Linked DNA regions of Homo sapiens: region 2 is linked to region 1. Evidence: promoter capture Hi-C in 16 types of primary human blood cells and fetal thymus (Javierre and others, 2016). All regions are on one chromosome and are shown on one strand. Each heading gives the region's core, a stretch centred on a gene start or on the middle of the fragment in contact. The rest is flanking DNA. Distances are from core to core; before and after follow the strand shown.

Region 1 (4,704 bases), core at 799-3,298:
CACCACGGGCCAAAAAGTCACAAGCCAAACGTAGAGCCATCAGTGTCAAATGGGCTGTAGGATAGAGACAATTAGTTGACGCACTCTGCAGCCCAGGAGGGCATGCGCCCACCTCCACCATCACCTGATCTCCAAGCACCACACTCCCTGTACCTTGTGAGTAAGCATCATGGACCCAGCTAGCCCCAACGTTGGGGGCCCCATCATTGAGCACAACATCAACCTTCCAGGTCTTCAGCTCCTTCCTCAGGGCCTAAAGAGAAGAAAAGGAACTATGGAAACAGAAACACTGGAATGGCCCTGGTTCAGCCATTTGTCCATCTAGTCATTTGCTGAGTGCCCATCATGGGCCAAATGCAGTACCAGGCACAGGAGATACAATAGTAAACAAAAACAGTATGTCTCTACCTTCATGGAGATTACAGTCTGACACTGAATTCACAGGAGAAGACTTCACTAAAGATCTCTGCCCTTCTCCCAATTCCAAACACCTTTATCCCTGACTCTAAATAAAGCCTGGAGTGGACACTACGAATGCCATAGGTCTTGTCGTACAGATGTCAGGCAAGAACGTGCTCAAAGCACGGTAAAAAGGAAAAACTTGCCTTTAGAGGATTTCAGGGATGTAGATGTTTCCGTATAAAGGGGGAAGGAAGAGAGAGACTCCTATTACCTGCCTACAACGTTCTGTTGTGATGTCCTGCTGGAGAGTCACCACATTGGGGAGAGGCTTGATTGGAACCAGGTCCACTCCTGGAAGAAATCAGGTCAGAGTATTCTAAAAGGTTGCTTCAAGCAGGGAGGAGAGAAATACAGGACAAAATACCTTATACACCCACCCCTTAAAACACCAAGGAGAGCTGTCCGTTACTCACCCACAATAAGGCTGGATACAGGCATAAACTTGGCAGCTACCTGCAGCCTATAAAAGGAACAGAAATTTAAAAACCTAGAGCCATCCTTTTCCCCCTCTTGGCAACTGATCTCTCATCCCTGGTGTTACGTGTACTGGCCAAAGCATATCATAGGCACGTATTCCAAGCCCTTTCTCTGCAATCAAGAAAGGAAACGGCCCCCAAGAGGACCGGGATTCGGGTTCCCCTCCCGCAGTGAAACTGGAAGCCATCCCAGCTCAGAACCCAGAAAGCGGCCACCAGGAGCAACCTGTGGCGAGTGTTACGAACCATCCCCCTGGCGCAGCACACAGGTCCAGCAAGGCTCGGGCTTTCTGCAGGAACTGAAAGCGGCGATTGAGCTGGATCAGCTTGAAAGCAGATCGGGAACGGTAACCTGGACAAAACAACCAAGTGCGCAAACTGCTTCACTAGTAGGATTTCTCCGGCCTCGCAACCGACCACCCCTTCTGCAGGAGAGGTACATAATGGTCGCAAAGAGCAGGCGAACCGGGCAGAGATCGCTCGCTCGCTCGCAGACTGAGCGAATCCGGACTCACCCGTCTCCTTCGCCAAGTGATAAAACTTGTCTCGTCGGCTCTTGCCAACTTTGCCCTTCTTGCCCATGGTGGAAAGGGGGAGTATCCCTCAATCTGGGGAGAAAGTAGAAGTTGGGAACGTCTCTTTCCGGAGCACCAGATTCCACTTCCAGTTTCCCACTTCCAGTTTCCCACTTCCCGCAGCAATTCCACCCCGCGCCCCTCTCCGCACACTACCTAGACCCAGAGCCGCTTTCTCCACACTTGGAACCGCACAAGTATGCAGCTAACTACTTCCGCTTCCGCTTGCGTCCCCTGCGTCCCTGGCTCGAGGTTTTCCGCCATTTTGAGTGTGGCCCTAGATTGTTCTCAATACTCTGTCCTTGGGTTTTGTAAGTTGAAAGTTGAGACTAGGAAGGCATATCACAAGAACTATAAACAGAGTTTCAATGAGGCAACACTGAGGAGGAGTTCTACTCCTTCCTCATCCCCTTCCAAAGCCCCTGAACTCGAGTAGCCGCCCCTCCCATCATGGTTCCCTTAGTGTGGTCTCGCCGCACACCCCGCCCATTGACCCGGAATTCTTCTCTGCCTGGTCTTCAGGTCCCAATCCTCCGCTTCCGCGCTTGCGCGCCAAGACGGCTCGGATGCCGGCGGTCTCTGCTGAAGAGAGAAGATGGCGCTTGACGGACCAGAGCAGGTATGGCGGGTGCAGTGGCGGCCCGGCAGGTTACGGGGCTGGGTGCGGAGCGAGCGTGATCTGAGTGGAGAGCGGGCCGGGGCAGGAGCGTCGGGTGGGTCGGAGGTGCCTGGACCAGTCCATGCTGGACGCTGCCTGCGACCGGATCTGCTGTGTCAGCGCCGCCCTCGGTGAGTCAGGGCAAGGCTGGGAGAGGAAGACGCGGTAGAAGCGGAGTGAGTGAGGGAAGCGATGGGCGCGGGAATGGCCGGCCCACGGGTCGCAGGAGACGGGACGCCAGTCCTTTGGCTCCGTTCCGCTGGCTCCTTCGTCAGTACTGACACCTCGGGCTTGTAGAGCACTTCACGCAGTGCAAAGCGCCCCCCGTCTATATCATATCGCCTCTCGGTCCTCCTAAAAGTCGTATGAGGTAGGCGGCGTTCCCATTCTTTTATTTTAGTCCTGGGAAAATGGAGGGTTCCAAGGGAGGGAGGGATTAGAACCCAGATCCTGAGCCTCCGAAGTCCAAACTTTTTCTACTACGCAAAGCTACCTGGTGTCAAGCCTTATTCAAAGTGCCCTGCAAGTGGCTTTACCCCCTCGGATGTTTAACCTGTCGTTTAAGACTCACTCTGTGTCTTCAGATGGAGCTGGAGGAGGGGAAGGCAGGCAGCGGACTCCGCCAATATTATCTGTCCAAGATTGAAGAACTCCAGGTGAGGACGGACTCCAGAGGGAGCTAGGAAGGGTGATGATGGGGGATGGAAACGGACTTCCACAAATCCATCTAATTCCTTTGGGAGTGCAGTGGAAGAAGCTGCTGCTTCTCCTTTCTTGTTTGTTTCTTAGCTAGTAGGGTGTATGTATCAGAAGTAAGCAATCTCTTGTTCTCCTCCAGTCCCATCTCTTTGAGGGTCTTAGTGTTCACAGTTTGTTACACATCTTCGAGTCAAATCTTAATAGTAAAGGTACCTCTAGCCAAAGGTCAACCCTTTTGGAAGAAGCCCGAATGAAAAGGATTCTTATAAAAGGGAAACATAAGCTCAGGAGTTGAAATTTATCACCAAGAGGTTGGGTGAGGGTGAAGTGAGAATGTGAGGAAGGGCATCATTGAGGGATCTGGACAATGCTAATTCCATAGAGACTGAATGAAAGAAATTGGGCAACCCAGAGCCCTAGCCTAAAGCGCTAAACCATAGAAAAAGGACCGTTTATGTTGTTAATCAAATGTTTGTGTTACCAGTAAGGCTTCCAGCAGTAAGGTATGGCTTCCAGTAGTAAGCCTTACAGACAACATAAACAGTAGTCTGTTAGTGTTACGTTATACTGTTACGGTAGGCTGTTAGTAGTTTAACTTTGGACAGGTCCATGGATTTTCAATTTCACCCTAACCCCCTGCGTTGTTCAAGTGTCAACTGTAATATAAATTGGATGGGGGAAAGCCACAAAAGACAATTCTGAATTCCAAGTGCATTTGCAGGTATTATGTTTAGTTTACCATTTTTGAATGCTTTTTCATGTGTTTTTATTCGTTCACCTTAGTAGTCTTGAAGCAGGGTAGCTGATGCTATACCCATGTGCCGTTTGGTAACAGATCTAGATTTTTAAAAATAGATTGTCTTACCTTTACTTTGCTTTTGATTGACAGCGGCTGGGCTAGAACTCAGGTTTCTCACCTAACAATCTTTCCACCAGGTGTTGTTGCCTTCCTGCAAGAAATTTGGTGTTACATGAGCCAGCTGTAACTTTTCTCCATTAGATTCTGTTACTCCTGGACCAGTATTGGACAAGCAGCCTTCTTTGATGGCTGCTGTAAGGTCCAGAGGGACTCTTGAAGGACAGGGCAGGGTCATTAGGATCATACTGGAGAATCTGAAACAACATGCAGGTGCCCTGTGCCCTTCCCTCAGCTCATTCAGACCTGTGAGGTCTTGGCCAAGATCCTACCTCCTCCTGTCTCCTGCCCTTGAATAATGGAATTTGTCTCTTGTCTGCCACAGCTGATTGTGAATGATAAGAGCCAAAACCTCCGGAGGCTGCAGGCACAGAGGAACGAACTAAATGCTAAAGGTGAGTGGAGAAAGATGGGAAGCCGCATGTGGGCAGTTTGTCTGAGGTCTGTCCTTATCTCCCTGCACTGTGTCTTCACAGCAGTGCTTACTGTTTTCTCCCTGTCATCATCTAGTAGTTTCACATGCATCTCTTTTTCCTGAGCCCTATTGTAGCCTCCTTAAATACATGAATTTTGACCTTTGGCCTTCCTTTAATAAGAGTGATGCTTAGCTCATGCACGTAGAATTGGGTCCTGGAGACTCCAAAGGAGTAGCTAGGTGACCACTGTGTCTGTTTGCCATCTAGTTCGCCTATTGCGGGAGGAGCTACAGCTGCTGCAGGAGCAGGGCTCCTATGTGGGGGAAGTAGTCCGGGCCATGGATAAGAAGAAAGTGTTGGTCAAGGTAAAAGCAGCATGACCCCAGGGACCAGCTCGGTCTCCACTGCATTCCCACCCCTTTGTGTGTAGCCTCGGGAGACAGGGTTCTGTGTTCTGTCAAGGTATTGTGGGATTCTCATAGGTCTTCCTGGGTAGGATTAG
Region 2 (4,704 bases), core at 858-3,357, 110 kb before region 1:
TTTCTGCCCATGATCTTTTCATTCCCACGGGCTAAAGAAGAGAATAGGTCAATGCAGCCAGTTCCTTTGGTAACGGGTTCAGCATGATGACCTATGCTGGAAATGCCAGCCTCATAATGACACAGTCGTTAGATTCCTGTGTTACTCAGAACACTCTATAGACCAGAATCTGATTCCTGCATGTGAGAAAGTACTGCATTTTTCAGTAGGTAACAATATGGCCTCAATGAGAGGCAACTACTTTGTATCTGAAGGTCTTCGTGCATCTGCTCTCTAAGCAAACTCCTTAAAATTTCTCTCACTTGAAAAAGAGACTATGAAAGACAGCTGAGTCCTGAGATTCAAATATTCATTTTATGTACTTTAAATAACTCCCTTTGGAGAAACCACAGATAGATACTACTTTTTTTTTTTTTTTGAGACAGAGTCTCGCTCTATCGCCCAGGCTGGAGTGCAATGGCGCGATCTCGGCTCACTGCAACCTCCACCTCCCAGGTTCAAGTGATTCTCCTGCCCCAGCCTCCTGGGTAGCTGGGATTACAGGTGCGTGCTACCATGCCCGGCTAATTTTTGCATTTTTAGTAGAGATGGGGTTTCATTGTGTTGGCCAGGCTGGTTTCAAACTCCTGACCTCAGGTGATGCGCGCACCTCGGCCTCCCAAAGTGCTGGGGTTACAGGCGTGAGCCATGGCGCCCGGCAGATAGATACTTCATTACCTATGTCCCTCTTCCTTGTCAGGCGTGCATATAAGCTTATAAGACATATTGTCTACTAGGCTATACACTAAGACACATTCTTGCTAAGCCTAGGTAGGGAATGATTCATTAAACTATCAATGTGCTTAGTTAGTAACTTGACAATATTTATTTCTACTCTCCAGTATTACAGAAAACTACCAAAACTAACCCAAAAGTATTAGTTTTAGAAAATAAAATTCTTTTTCTTTTTTTTTTTTGAGACAGGGTCTCACTCTGTCACCCAGGCTGGAGTACAGTGGCATGATCATAGTTCACTACAGCCTCGAACTCCAGGGCTCAAGCGGATCCTCCCACCTCAGCCTCCCAGGTATATGCCACCATGCCAAGCTAATTTTTTTTTTTTTTAATTAGGGACAGAGTCTCACTCTGTCTCCCAAGCTGGAGTGCAATGGCGCTATCCTAGCTCACTGCAGCCTTGAACTCCTGGGCTTAAGGGATTTTTCTGCCTCATCTTCCTGGGTAGCTAGGACTACCAGTGTGCGCTACCATGCCTGGCTAGTTTTTTTGTTTTTAGAGATGGGGTCTCACTATGTTGCCCAGGCTGGCTTCAAATTCCTGGCCTCAAGTCATCCTCCTGCCTCAGCCTCCCAAAGTGCTGGGTTTACAGGTGTGAGCCACCACACCTGGCCTTTAGAAAATAAAGTTCTGGGGGCTGGGCGAGGTGGCTCACACCTGTAATCCCAGCACTTTGGAAGGCCGAGGCAGGCGGATCACAAGGTCAGGAGATTGAGACCATCCTGGCCAACACAGTGAAACCCTGTCTCTACTAAAACTACAAAAAATTAGCTGGGCATGGCAGCGGGCACCTGCAGTCCCAGCTACTCGGGAGGCTGAGGCAGGAGAATGCCGTGAACCCGGGGAGGCAGAGCTTGCAGTGAGCTGAGATCGCGCCACTGCACTCCAGCCTGGGCGACAGAGCGAGACTGTTTAAAAAAAAAAAAAAAAAAAGTAAAAAAAGAAAATAAAGTTCTTGGCCAGGCATGGTGGCTCACGCCTGTAATCCCAGCACTTTGGGAGGCTGAGACAGGTGGATCATCTGAGGTCAGGAGTTCGAGTCCAGCCTGACCAACATGGTGAAACCCTGTCTCTACTGAATACAAAAAATTAGCTGGGTGTGGTGGCACATGTCTGTAATCCCAGCTACTTGGGAGGCTGAGGAAGGAGAATCGCTTGAACCCAGGTGGCAGACGTTGCAGTGAGCTGAGATTGCACCATTGCACTCCAGCCTGGGCAACAAAAGTGAAGCTCCGGCTGGGCGTGGTGGCTCACGCCTGTAATCCCAGCACTTTGGAAGGCCGAGGCAGGCGGATCACAAGGTCAAGAGAACGAGACCATCCTGGACAACATGGTGAAACTCCGTCTCTATTAAAAGTATAAAAATTAGCTGGGCGTGGTGGCGGGTGCCTGTAGTCCCAGCTACTCGGGAGGCTGAGGCAGGAGAATCGCTTGAACCCGAGAGGTGGAGGTTGCAGTGAGCCGAGATCATGCCATTGCACTCCAGCCTGGGTGACAGAGTGAGACACCGTCTCAAGAAAAAATAAAATAAAAAAAAATAAAGTGAAGCTCCATCTCAAAAAAAAAAAAAAAAGTTCTTGACTGGGCACGGTGGCTCACGCCTGTAATACCAGGACTTTGGGAGGCTGAGTAGGGTAGATCACTTGAGGTCAGGGGTTCGAGACCAGCCAACATAGTGAAACCCTGTCTCTACTAAAAATATAAAAATTAGCTGGGTGTGATGGCACAGGCCTGTAATCCCAGCTACTCGGGAGGTTGAGGCAGGAGAATTGCTTGAACCCAGGAGGCAGAGGTTGCAGTAAGCCGAGATCGCACCACTGCACTCCAGCCTGGGCAACAGAGTGAGATTCGGTCTCAAAAAAAAAAAAAAGAAAGAAAGAAAATAAAGTTCTTTATGAAACTGGCAATATGAGCTCACAGGCAATCTGGAATTGCATAAAATGAACTAGTCCAGTGATAGCAACTGCTCTGTCCCCAGCTTACTAGGAATGATTCTAAAATGGAGGCCTTCTACTTTGTGGATATTGTATAGGTCCGAACTCAAAGAGAGACCAAACTTCATTTAGGAAAACAAACAAACAAACAAGGAAACAGGCAATATTTTGAAAGGAAGAAGTCTAGATCATCTGACATTGCCACAAGAAACGCAGGTTAGTTCATCACACTGTTTCAGTTTTAGAACAGGTCTAAACTCAGATAAAAAGAATGAACTATTTAGCCCATTCTCTTTAAATGCAGCATGGCATAGTTTAATTAGTGCAATGTAATAATCTCCAATTGCTCATAGAAAGGAACTAATTCTGTCAAAGTGTTTTCTTAGTTTCCCCCACCATGAAATGCATTTTATTCATTTTGAAGCATCTGAAAAATAAATAAGCAGCTGATATCCAGAAATGACCATAAAATAACTGTGTTTAAAGAGTTTAAAACAAAATACAGTAAAGCACACAAAGACAATATTCACAAAATGCTACCAAATAAACACATTCAACTTCCCACAGGTTTCACACAGGATAACTTTTGATATAACATCAGCAGCTGTAAAAATATAAAAATCCTATGTAATTGGCATCGTATTCTAGAAAAATAGCTAACTGAGCCTATAGGGAACGTTTTTGGTCTTCAGATTGGAAAGCATTTGGATCTGATAGAGAGGTGCTCCTGATTAGCAGATGACATAAGCACAGCCAAAGCTTTACTCAGAAATTCCCAGTCAACATCACTGTCCTTCACTCAACCTTAGGGCTGCTGCAGAAGCTGCAAATGTCTGCAATCTGAACAGAGTCAGAAGTCTAGGTAGGAAAGGTTCTTATCCTCTCTCCTTATAAGACACTGATTCATATATTCCAAAATAGCTTGGTACACTGTGCACATCTGGTGCTATTTATTTAAGTAAAATAAACTAGAAGAGAAGGAAACAGGGTAAGAATCTTGCAGCTTTCACCAATGAAAAAAGTAAATGTTCTGTTTTATACTTTTTAATTTTGCTTTTGTTTTTTAAGGTAAGAGATTTGAGGTCCTGTCTTATTATCTAGGCAGAGATCTGTATTATCTCTGTGGACTAAAATCTATTATTAATAAACTAAGGACGGAAAATTTAATAACATTAGTCACTAAACAATAACCGTATTTCTGACTGTTGAAACTTACTTTTTTGGGGGAAGGGGTGGCAGTCGATTGGCAGGGCTGGGGAGAGGAGGAGACCTTAATCCCCAGAAGAGACAAAAACTACCTGAGACTTTTTTCAGTTTTCAAACTACACATCCAAATTTTTCCAGGGTGAAACCTGAATCTCCACAAGTACAAAAATCACACTACAAATAAAGCTCAGTGACAGATAAGCAGAAACATAAAATGATAAGCCAACAAAACACACAAACTTCCACAAGAAGTCATCTCCATGCAACAGCCATAGTGCTAGGGCCTAGGAAGCCACTTACTTTTCTCCGAGTGTCACCCGGAGGCTGCTCTGGGGTAGAGAAATTGATTGTTGGCATTTTGTGTTTTAGCAGAAGACACACCCACATTCAGAACAGCAATTATTGTACTTAGGACTACATTTATTAATAGAAACCACTTAAAAGTCATTACAGCAAAAAGTGCCTGCGGGGCTACATATAAACACACACAGATCCACAGTAAAAATGCTGCAGAGAGATAGGGCTTTAAACATGGATCTATGGTTCTTCAAAAGGTGGCAAGGCTACTACTCTATGGGTATTCTTTACTGGATAGAACTCAACTCTTACATTTCTGGTCATACATTTACTTGGCATCAACACACAATGTTATTATGAATAGGCCAGTTCCTTATATTTTGTGAATAAACAATTGATTATATAGTTACAGAGATGGTTGGCCATTTCCCAGTGAGTGTGGGAACTAGAAAACATGTTTTTTCAAAAAAGGGCAAAAAGTTTTAAAATAGCA

What was found. Contacts are between HindIII fragments. The CHiCAGO score rates a contact against its expected background, and 5 or more counts as called.
Region 2: a contact is called between a fragment that was not itself captured here and the fragment with the promoter of PSMC5 in region 1, in 3 of 17 cell types (endothelial precursors, erythroblasts and naive CD4 T cells). The highest score is 5.7, in endothelial precursors.

The regions. Positions count from the first base shown.
Region 1 is chr17:63,825,383-63,830,086 of GRCh38, forward strand. PSMC5 (proteasome 26S subunit, ATPase 5) reads left to right here and starts at 2,049. Exons shown (of 12, transcript NM_002805.6): 1 at 2,049-2,132; 2 at 2,756-2,827; 3 at 4,112-4,181; 4 at 4,470-4,567. The coding sequence starts at 2,109. It overlaps FTSJ3 (FtsJ RNA 2'-O-methyltransferase 3), which reads right to left and starts at 2,281. Exons shown (of 21, transcript NM_017647.4): 1 at 1,670-2,281; 2 at 1,454-1,546; 3 at 1,185-1,290; 4 at 876-922; 5 at 674-753; 6 at 154-253; 7 at 1-54. The coding sequence starts at 1,520. RefSeq lists enhancers at 1,394-2,593, 1,730-2,009, 2,390-2,439. The HindIII fragment of the contact is 8,506 bases long and covers 1-4,704 here.
Region 2 is chr17:63,719,084-63,723,787 of GRCh38, forward strand. STRADA (STE20 related adaptor alpha) reads right to left here. Exons shown (of 13, transcript NM_001003787.4): 4 at 4,215-4,243. Among named protein-coding and RNA genes, the nearest start is that of STRADA, 20 kb to the right of the region's middle. The HindIII fragment of the contact is 2,715 bases long and covers 751-3,465 here.